2 separate regions of the Homo sapiens genome follow, and region 2 is linked to region 1. The links are contacts of gene promoters, found by promoter capture Hi-C in human tissues and cell types (Jung and others, 2019). All regions are on one chromosome and are shown on one strand. Each heading gives the region's core, a stretch centred on a gene start or on the middle of the fragment in contact. The rest is flanking DNA. Distances are from core to core; before and after follow the strand shown. Region 1 holds the start of EPB42 (erythrocyte membrane protein band 4.2). Region 2 overlaps STARD9 (StAR related lipid transfer domain containing 9).

What was found. Contacts are between HindIII fragments. The study calls those that stand out against the background at their distance.
Region 2: a contact is called between a fragment that was not itself captured here and the fragment with the promoter of EPB42 in region 1, in 1 of the 25 tissues and cell types used here (heart right ventricle).

Annotation. Positions count from the first base shown.
Region 1 is chr15:43,219,072-43,224,302 of GRCh38, reverse strand. It overlaps EPB42 (erythrocyte membrane protein band 4.2), which reads left to right and starts at 3,285. Exons shown (of 13, transcript NM_001114134.2): 1 at 3,285-3,487. The coding sequence starts at 3,478. The HindIII fragment of the contact is 9,374 bases long and covers 1-5,231 here.
Region 2 is chr15:42,719,319-42,724,549 of GRCh38, reverse strand. It overlaps STARD9 (StAR related lipid transfer domain containing 9), which reads right to left. Exons shown (of 33, transcript NM_020759.3): 33 at 3,552-5,077. The coding sequence ends at 4,976. It overlaps CDAN1 (codanin 1), which reads left to right. Exons shown (of 28, transcript NM_138477.4): 28 at 1-1,006. The coding sequence ends at 59. Among named protein-coding and RNA genes, the nearest start is that of CDAN1, 15 kb to the left of the region's middle. The HindIII fragment of the contact is 4,414 bases long and covers 86-4,499 here.

The DNA of each region.
Region 1 (5,231 bases), core at 2,036-4,535:
TAAGAAGGTAATAAAGGTGAAGTGGGGTCATAAGAATGGGCTTCAATCCAATAGGAATGATGTCCTTATAAGAAGACGAAAAGGAAAAGACACCAGAGATCTTTCTCTTTCCGCGTGGACACAGGGAAGAGGGCATGTGAGGAAGAGAGCCTTCACCAGACACCAAGCCTAAAGGCCCTGATCTTGAACTTCCATCCTACAGAAGGGTGAAAACATAAATATCTGTTGTTTAAGCCACCCAGTCTGACTAACACTCTCCGTAGAGGCTGCACAAATTTGGAGAGGCTGCACCAATTATTTATTAATTAATTTATTTATTTCTATTTTTTTGAGACAATGTCTTGCTCTGTTGTCAAGGCTGGAATACAGTGGCATGATCTTGGCTAACTGCAACCTCCACCCACCAGGTCAAGCGATTTTCATGTCTCAGTCTCCTGAGTAGCTGAGATTACAGGCACCCACCACCATGTCTGGCTAATTATTGTATTTTTAGTAGAGATTGGTTTTCACCATCTTGGCCTGGCTGGTTTCGAACTCCTGACCTCAAGTGATTCACCTGCCTCCCAAAGTGCTGGGATTACAGGCATGAGCCACCGCGCCCAGCCGAGGCTGCACCAATTTAAATTTGCACTCCCACTAGTATTATAAGAGAGCAACTATTTTCCTAAAACATCACCAACTCAAAATGTTGTCAAACTCTTTTATCTTTGCCAATCTAATAGGTGAAGAAAGAATGATATCTCAGGGTGTTTTTATTTTGCATTTTTATTAAATGAGGCTGAACATCTTTCCATGGAATTGATAGACATTTTTATTTCCTTTTCTGTGAATTGTCTATCATATCCTTTACTCATTTTTCTAATAGTTTGTTATTCTTTTCTTATTGATTTATAGGCATCTTTTATATTAAGGAGATTAATCCTTCGTGATATGAGTTTCAAATATTTTACCCAACTTGTTGCATATCTTGTTTTGTTTTGTTTTTGAGACGGATTCTCACTCTGTGGCCCAGGCTGGAGCACAGTGGCCCAGTTTCAGCTCACCGCAACCTCCAACCTCCCGGGTTCAAGCTATTCTCCTGCCTCAGCCTCCCAAGTAGCTGGGATTACAGGCACATGCCACCACGCTCAGCTAATTTTTTGTATTTTTAGTAGACATGGGGTTTCACCAAGTTGGCCAGGCTGGTCTCAAACTCCTGACCTCGTGATCCACCCGCCTCGGCCTCCCAAAGTTCTGGGATTACAGGTGTGAGCCACCGTGCCCCATCTGCATATCTTTTAACATTGTGAATATTTCCATTTAAAAATTTTTAAGGAATCAAATTTCTCAGTATTTTCTTTTTGTCTTCTGAGTTTTGCATAATATTTTTAAAGGTTTTCCCAAGTTAACTTAAGAAGAAGTGTCTCATTTTTTCTTCTATTACTTTAAGAATTTAATAAGAGTTTTGATCCATCTGAAATTTATTTTGATGTGTGGCATAAGATAGGAAGCCAACTGTATTTTGACAAGCTAGTTGTCCCAAAATCATTTACTGATAAATCCTTCATTTCCCCATGGATTTGAAGTGCCACATTTAGCATACATTTAATACATGTATTTTGATCTATGGACTTTTCAATTACAGTAATATCATATTATGTGTTCATATCTAGGAAGGCTGGTCACACTTTATTATTATCTTAGAAATTTCCTTTTGAACCTTAGAATCAGTTTACCTAGTTTCAAAAAACAATCTTGGTGTTTTTATTGGGAATGAATTAAACTTAAGATCAACTTGGGAAGAAATGACCGCTTTATAAAGTTGAGTTGTCCTACACAGGATGGTGATCTTCCTTTTTATCTGCTCAAGTCTTATTTGGTGTCCCTCCATACCGTTTCCAAGTGTTTTACTGACAGCACTTCACATTTCTTAAGTTTATTTCTAGAAATTTCACCTTTTGTTGTTGTTGCTATTATAGGTTGGGTCTTTAATTACAGTTTCTGACTTGTTATTGATTGCAGGTATGAAAACTATTGGCTTCTATACTTTTGGTATTAGCCAGCTCACTAAATTACCTTTTATAATCATTGTTAGTAGATTCAAGTTTTCCAGGTAAAAAATGACATCTTCAAATAATGAAAAATTAACTTCTTCATTTCTTATGAAGGATTTTTTTTTTTTTTTCTGAGATGGAGTCTTGCTCCATGCTGGCTGTGCAGTGGCACGATCTTGGCTCACTGCAACCTCAGCCTCCCAGGTTCAAGCAATTCTTCTGCCTTAGCCTCCTGAGTAGCTGGGAGTACAGGCGCCTGCCACCACGCCCAGCTAATTTTTGTATTTTTAGTAGAGAGAGGGTTTCACCATATTGGCCAGGCTGGTCTCGAACTCCTGACCTCAGGTGATCCGCCTGACTTGGCTTCCCAAAGTGCTGGGATTACAGGCATGAGCCACTGCGCTAGTGAAAGGCAGAAGTTTCATTTTTTTTTTTTTTTTTTTTTTTTACATAATAAGATCCTTCAAATGAGTTCAAAAGTTCAAAGTTTTAAAAGTATAAAAGAGTAAACAGCAGAAAGATAACCTTTCTACCCCACTGCCCAGATCCCCTCCCCACAGGCAACCAATATTTTTGGCAGTGTGTTTTATATCATTCTATAGACGTCTCATGTATATGCAGCAAGTACAGCTGCCCTGAAAGTGCTTCTGGTAACACAGTTTCACAAGCCCAGGTAGGGCCAAATATGAGATCCTTCTCTTGTCTCTTCAGGAACTAAAGAAAGAAAAATTGAAAAGACATAGGGCCTGAGTCCCAAGATAGTTCCCAACCTTCTCTGGTAGAGGGTCCCAGACCAGGTAGGCTTGGAAGAGTTGGGGCCCCAGCTTCTACTTTTAATACATTTATTTTTCACCAACAAATTCTACTTCCTTATCTTTTTCACACAGATAAATTGCAGATGCACGTGTTCTCTCTATTATCAAAACAGCCCATGAACATCTTGCAACTTGCAGCCCCTGTCACGTTTAGGGCCTGAGATTTGGAGTTGGATATGGGACTCCTGTTTGTGGCCTCCTCTCTTCCAGAGTCTTCCAGTGCAGTCCAGATAACATCTCTGAGAGTCTCTTGAGACCACTGAAGCAAGAGGCTTCAAGGTTTGTTCTAGGCTTCTCTAGTTGGCAGGTCTTCCCCATCCCACCCCCTCCCCCAGGGCTGCCAGGCGTATTCCTGCCTGGGCCTCCTGGCACAAGAGATAAAATGAACAGGGTTACTCCCAGTAACTGGTCCAGGAGATACCAGCAGAGAGGGAGTAGGAGAGAAGAAACATGTCAGGGTGCTCACAGGAGTAGTGGGGGGAGGTTTTGCTATTTCCAGATTCTTAAGCCAACAAAAGTGCCTTCATATTTTCTGTCTGGAAGACAGAAAGCCCAGAAGGAGCCCAGAAGCAACAGTTTGAGAGAGGCGCTTTCTGCGGCCAAGTGGATAAGAGGAGCGGCCTGCAACCATGGGACAGGGTGAGCCAAGCCAGCGCTCGACAGGGCTTGCTGGACTGTATGCAGCCCCCGCAGCATCACCTGTTTTCATTAAAGGAAGTGGGATGGATGGTAGGCGGGGAGATGGTGGTATAACTATGGTGGGGGAGGGGGTACTGGTGATAATGAGGTGGCTGTGGGGGGGGGGTGTGGTAGGTGGGTGCTGGTAGAGGTGATAGTGAGCTGGCTGTGGAGCGTGGTGTGATGATGGGTGCTGGTGGAGGCGGAGGCGGAGGTGATGGTGATGTTGCTGTGGGGTGGTTATGGGGTAGCATGTTGGGGTAAACTGGTCATGATAGTTGTATGATGGTGAGATGGTGATGGTGGTTAACATGGATTTATATTCTTATCCCAAGGTCATCATAGCATAAGTGTTCACAGCTTACTGATACAAATGAGAGACACCCTGGGTAGCATGAAGGTGTCACAGCTTCTACACCAAATGGGAGAGAAGGAGAGGAGGGAGTCAGGGAATCCACCTAAAAGGGGCAGAGGCAGACACAAAGCAAGAAACCAACACAGGTGGTCAGAGTCGCAGCACTCTTGGCAGGAATTATTATATCCTGGCCTGGGAATTGCCTGGCTGTTTTGTGTCCTGGGAGAAGCAAGCGGGTAGGCAGAGGGAAATGGTGCAGAGGTGTGGGGACAGTGGGGTGCAGCTGTGGTTCTGTTGCTATAGAAACTGCCTCACTCCCCTGCCCTGGTTGGTCTGGTGTGCGGAGGGCAACTGACGCTGAGACCAACAGCTGAGAAGGGAAGAAAAAGAACTCTGGGTGAATTAAGTCAATAATCTCAGCCACGTCTTGTGAAAATAGGGCAGACACCAATAAATTGTCCTTTTTTTTTTTTTTTTTAAACGGAGTCTCTCTCTGTCACCAGGCTAGAGTTCAGTGGCGCAATCTCGGCTCACTGCAACCTCCGCCTCCTGGGTTCAAGTGATTCTCCTGCCTCAGCCTTCTGAGTAGCTGGGACTACAGGCACCCACCACCATGCCCGGCTAATTTTTTGTATTTTTAGTAGAGACGGAGTTTCACCTTGTTGGCCAGGATGGTCTCGATCTCTTGACCTCGTGATCCTCCGCCTCGGCCTCCCAAAGTTCTGGGATTACAGGCGTGAGCCACTGCGCCTGGCCAAATCGTTCTTTTTATTCTGTAGAGACCAGACAAATTAAAATCTACTCAATCAGAGAAACACAAAGATATCAGGAGATTGTTTAGTCTAGTCCCAAACCAGAGGATGCCCCTGGGCACTAAATTCTTTCCAGGCAGTGGGTGGCAGAGGGCCCAGTAGCCACCAGATGAGAATCACTGAGTATGAACTCATGACATGCTGCAGTGGCTGGAGCTGGCTTGTGCTGACTTGCAAGAGCCAATTGCTAAATTTTGAGGAACCTTGTGAACCAGTTCTTAAACACAGGCATTATTAAAAATTAAATTGTATAAACTTACAAGTAAAAAATTTATATTAAAAAGAAAGATAATAAGTACTCTAAACTCATCACTTCCTACGTATTTTACTCCTTTTTACCTTTATGTTCTTGAGGGCGTTTATGTCTCCTGTATCTCTGTGCTGGAAAAACCACATGATGATGTGCCAGTCCGCGCCTCTTCACAGCTCTGCGCTTGCTGACATCACCTCAGTAGCTTCAGACTGGCCACAGGGGGCGTAGTTTACACAACAGAACTTGGCAAATGCTGTAACTCAGTACGCCCTTTCCCCTCACCGC
Region 2 (5,231 bases), core at 1,043-3,542, 500 kb after region 1:
AGCTAAGAGCCTGTGAGTTGGTGCAGCCAAACCGGGGCACTGTGCTGGCCCAGAGCTAGGGCTGAGAAGTGGCCCTGCCTTGGGCATTGCACCAGAACCCTGGACCCCCGCCTCACGAGGAGGCCCAAGTGCCCAATGCAGACCCTCACTGGTTGGGGTGTAGCTGGGTCTACAGTCAGACTTCCTGCTCTAAGGGTGTCACTGCCTGGCATCCCACCACGCGAATCCTAGAGGAAGGAGAGTTGGCCTGATTTGGGATTATGGCAGAAAAGTCCAGAGATGCCAGTCCTGGAGTAGAAGAGGTGGTGTTTGTTTATCTCTTGGATACTAAATGAAATGAGGTGTGTGGGCTTGTCAACACAGAATTCAAGCCTCATTTGCTATCCCAGCATCTCTTAAAACTTTGTAGTCTTGGAATTCATGACAGAGGCAAATGACTCCTGCTTAACTTATGAAGAAAGTTAAAACATGAATCTTGGGAGTCTACATTTTCTTATCACCAGGAGCTGGACTGCCATCTCCTTATAAATGCCTAACACAGGCCGGGTCTGGTGGCTCATGCCTGTAATCCCAGCACTTTGAGAGGCCTGAGGTCGGCGGACTGCCTGAGGTCAGGAATTCAAGACCAGCCTGGCCAACATGGCAAAACCCCATCTCTACTAAAAATAAAAAAATTATTAGCTGGGCATGGTGGTGTGTGCCTGTAATCCCAGCTACTCAGGAGGATGAGGCAGGAGACCTGCTTGAACCTGGAGGTGGAGGTTGCAGTGAGCCGAGGTCGCACCACTGCACTCCAGTCTGGGTAACAGAGCGAGACTTTCTAGAAAAAGCCTAACAAACAGATAAGGTAGGACTCAACCAACTGAAACCTGACTTTCCCCCTGTACCTTCAGCCCCTGTGCAGGTAGTAACCTCTTGAGACCTCTCCCTGACCAGGGACCAAGCACAGGGCATTTAGAGCTTTTTAGAATAAACTGGTTTTCTTTAACAAGGGCTTGATGTCTAATCATTGTCACCTGTCTTCTCCCTTTAGAAGGCTGCAGTCTCGGGTGGGCTGTAGGTGGAGCGCTGTAATTGTGGCTTTGCTCTGTGCATTACAAGGTGAGCTACCTTGGCTCTTAGAAATGCCTGTATATTCCACTCTAGAGGGCTAGTCTCTGGTGGCAATATCTATTAATTTAATTTATCGCCAGTGGTACTGACTTCTCCTGTGTAACTCGCTTTATTTGTGGGAGAAAGGGTTAGGATAATGTAGTTTCCACACACAAGATATTCCCTACTGAACCACATGGTGGGGCAGTGTTCTTGTTAAGCTTGTTAAGGCTAAGGTGTTTGTTTGATTGATTTGGCTTGGAGTTTCTCAGAGCAAAAGCATTGCTTCTCGATTACAGCTGTATCAAGCTCTATAAATGAGCCACTGATTTTGACAGGTTCACACCTGTAATCCCAGTGCTTTGGGAAGCCGAGAGAGAGGACTACTTGAGTCCAGGAGTTAGAGGTTACAGTGAACTATGATTGTGCCACTGCACTCCAGCCTGAGCAAGAGTGAGACCCCCATCTCTTTGAGGGGAAAAAAAAAAAGCACTACTGTGATCATGTGCATTAATAACCAGGAGTTGGACTGATAATATAATCCTCAGGAGGACCTAAAGGGGTCCACTTGTGTGACCATGGTAGAGCCAGGAAATCCCATCAACCTAGAAAGTAAAAAATGGGAGTTTTCCTCAGTCACCACCTTGTGATCATACTTCTCCCAAACACCATGCCTTTCCCTTCTCCTCAGCTCAGCTACTCCTTTAACAAGTTTCTATATCTGAACCATTTTCCCCTGATCTCTTCATTTTCAAAGGCCTTTATCTTTATCCTTTAAATCCAATTTGTTCTGAATGCCTGGGAACCAAAAAAGCTTTAAGGAATGCTTTCTCGGCCGGACACAGTGGCTCACACCTGTAATCCCAGCACTTTGGGAGGTCAAGGCGGGAGGATCACTTGTGCTCAGGAGTTTGAACCAGCCGGGGCAACATGGGGAAGCCTCATCTTTAAAAAATACAAAATTGGTGAGGAGTGGTGGTCCATGCCTGTGGTCATAGCTACTTGGGAGGCTGAGGTCAGAGGATCACTTGAGCCCAGGAGGTCAAGGCTACAGTGAGCCATGATCACACCACTGCAGTCCAGCCTGGGCTACAGAGCGATACCCTGTCTGTCTCAAAAAAAAAAAAAAAGCTTTCTATGCCCAGAGACCAGCACTGGGTGTGATTAAACCATAGCACCGCCCCCACCCAGGAAGCTTAGGGTCAGCGTCAGGCTTGTGGCTACTCCTTGACTTGTTCCAGAGGACCCAGCTGAGGTGTGTGACATGGAATGGGCAGGAGAGGAAAACCTGAAACCCCTAAGGATGCTGAGACTGAAGGGCTGGGCCATAACCCAGGCCTGGCTTAAGGCCCACTGAGTTAAAAACAAGTTCTTGGGAATCTGAATGGAAATTTAACATGTTCCCGATGAAGGAAACTTCCTGCTGGCCTGTGTGAGCCTTAAAGGCTACTCTAAGGATTATGGAGACAGGCAGCTAGTGGGTCAGTGAACTAGATTCTGTATGTCTGCTCTCTAATTGTCAAAGCCAGCTGTTTATAAAATGTGGTCCCCAGACCAGCAAACTTCAGGGTCCCCTGGGACTTCTTGTTAACACAAATTCTCTGGTCCTTCTCCGGGGCTACCAAACCAGTAACTTGGGGTAGGGCCCATCCTGGGGCATAAGAAAGCGTTCAGGTGATTCTGATGTATGCGAAAGTATGACAACCACGCCATGAATCCAAAATCTGACTCCACTTTTGCTTTTTGCTACAAGATCCCTCTCAATCTTTCGCTTGCTGATTCAGTCAGGTCTGGTGTTGCTTTTTTTTTTTTTTTTTTTTGAGACAGAGTCTCACTCTGTTGCCCAGGCTGGAGTGCAGTGACACAATCTCGGCTCGGCTCACTGAAACCTCCCCCTCCCAGGTTCAAGCAATTCTTGTGCCTCAGCCTCCCAAGTAGCTGGGATTACAGGCACATGCCACCACGCCTGGCTAATTTTTTGTATTTTTAGTAGAGACAGGTTTCACCATGTTGGCCAGGCTGGTCTCAAACTCCTGACCTCAGGTGATCCACCCGCCTCAGCCTCCCAACGTGCTGGGATGACAGGCATGAGCCACCATGCCCGGCTGGCTTCTCTATTAAGGCGGGCAGGGTCACCTCCTGGTTATCCCCTGACTCAGATTCCCATAGGTGGCTCTGCCTCAGAAGCCCCAGGGCACTGTGGTCACTGTTAGGTGTGGCAGTGACTGTTCTGGATTCTCCCCTTTAGTTCTTACTTGGGCTATAGTTGAGCAACTTACCTGGTTGCTGTTTACCCTGCAAAGCAATGCCAAGTTCATGGGAAACTGTACATACATGTAAACTGAATCTTTGAAACAGCTATGAGTGGGTATTGCCAGGGTGATCTCCAGCTAATCTGCCAAGCTCGAATCACACACTTAGGCTATCCCGGTGCAGGATTTCATCTACTCTTCACTAGATAAAGTACACAGAGGACTTTTAATTTTAAAATGTTCTTTTTTGGTCAGTAGTCTTAGTAAGAGATTTATATGAAAAGAGGTAGGAGTATATAAATAGGGTGTTAAATATATCATGTCACCAAAAAATTTACCCGAGAAATAGAAGTTTAAAAGCAATTTTAAAAAACCTTCAATCAACAATATATAAATAACTTAATCTGAGGTAAGAGGGAAAAATGCCCTGCAAACACTTTAGAAAAACACATCTCTGCCACACTACAGAAATAGACCTTTACCACATCTTCTGAATCCCCAGTTCCCTCCATCTACCAAAGATTTTGGGCACCAGAACTAAAGATGAGAATCTCTCCCACCCCTACCACTTCCAGGTAAACACAAAGTTCATGTTCAGCCAGGCTAAAGTACAAGAAAACTGAACCCACTCTCCATCCCACCCCATCCTAGGATAGGTGGGGCCAGGGCAGAAATCATGGAATGCTCAGGACTCCACCCCTCCCAAGTGCACTGAGGTAAGTTCTGGAACTGAGCTTCCTCCCAACAAGCCACTCACCTCCTCTGGGAGTTCATTCACCTCCTCTCCCTTCCTCAAAGGACAATGTTTAATCTCTGAAATTCCTCTTGCCTTGTCAGCAGCCACCATCTGGCTGCCACTCCAACCAGTCCTCAAAAGAACTCAGCCTCCAACCCTGACCCCAAATCTGTCCAACCTGGTTCTATAGTGTCTTCCATCTGACCGAGCTCTAGAGTGACAGCTCCATATCAGAGCATCATCGCTCAACACCCCTGCCTCAGGCCAAGACCCAAATGTCTTCTCCTGGGAGGGAAAGGGAGAAAAAAAGCAAAAATCAATAATAAAGTATTTTGCAAAAACTCAAGAGGGAGAAAAGATTCTGAATCGGTGTTCTGGTTTGTGCAGCTGTTTTTTAAACCCTCTTTCTGTTTTGGTATTTTTAACGTCCCATCACACAGTAGAGCTGAATGCTAGAGGAGGTAGATTCAGAACAGAGTCTTGGCCAGTGGCTGCCTGCTTCCCTACCAGCCTGCGGAAGCACCTTGCCAAAGCACTGCAGTCCCCGGCTCTGCTGGCTGTGCCCAGTCCTGGTCCTTAAGTGTCCTGTCTGCCGCAGAGTCCCAGAAACAGGAAAGAAAGGTGAGAAATCCAAAAGGTGAGCGGAGCTGCATTCACTCTGGATAGTCTGGGCCAGGAGCTCAGGCCGTTTGCTCTGCACTGGTGCCAGCTGTGACCAAGTACTGACTGGGCTTTGCTAGCATCCCTGGGCCAGTGCTGTCTGCCCCAATCGGCCACAGCAGGTAGCATCAGCTTTTCCTGCACTGTGGTATGGAAAGTAACAAGGAGCTGCCACAGTGTCTCTCTTGAGCAGCCTGGGCCTGCATCTCAGCAGCACCATCTTGACGGTGAGATGCTACCTACCAAGGAAGGAAGCCAGTCTGGCTATAACCAGTGGCTGCCGTTTGATGAAAGAGCTCAGGAGCTGAGGTGGGAAGCCTGGAGCACCAAGTTCCACCTGAAAGCAGAGAGAGAAGAATTTAAGGTGCAAATAGATTTGAGAGAATGCCAGGCGTACTCCAGTCCCATGGAGTCCCCTCAGCCTGTGGTGATGGGAGAAGCACCTCAGATTGTGGTTTGGTGTTTACAGGCCCCTGGGCTCTGCCATCCAG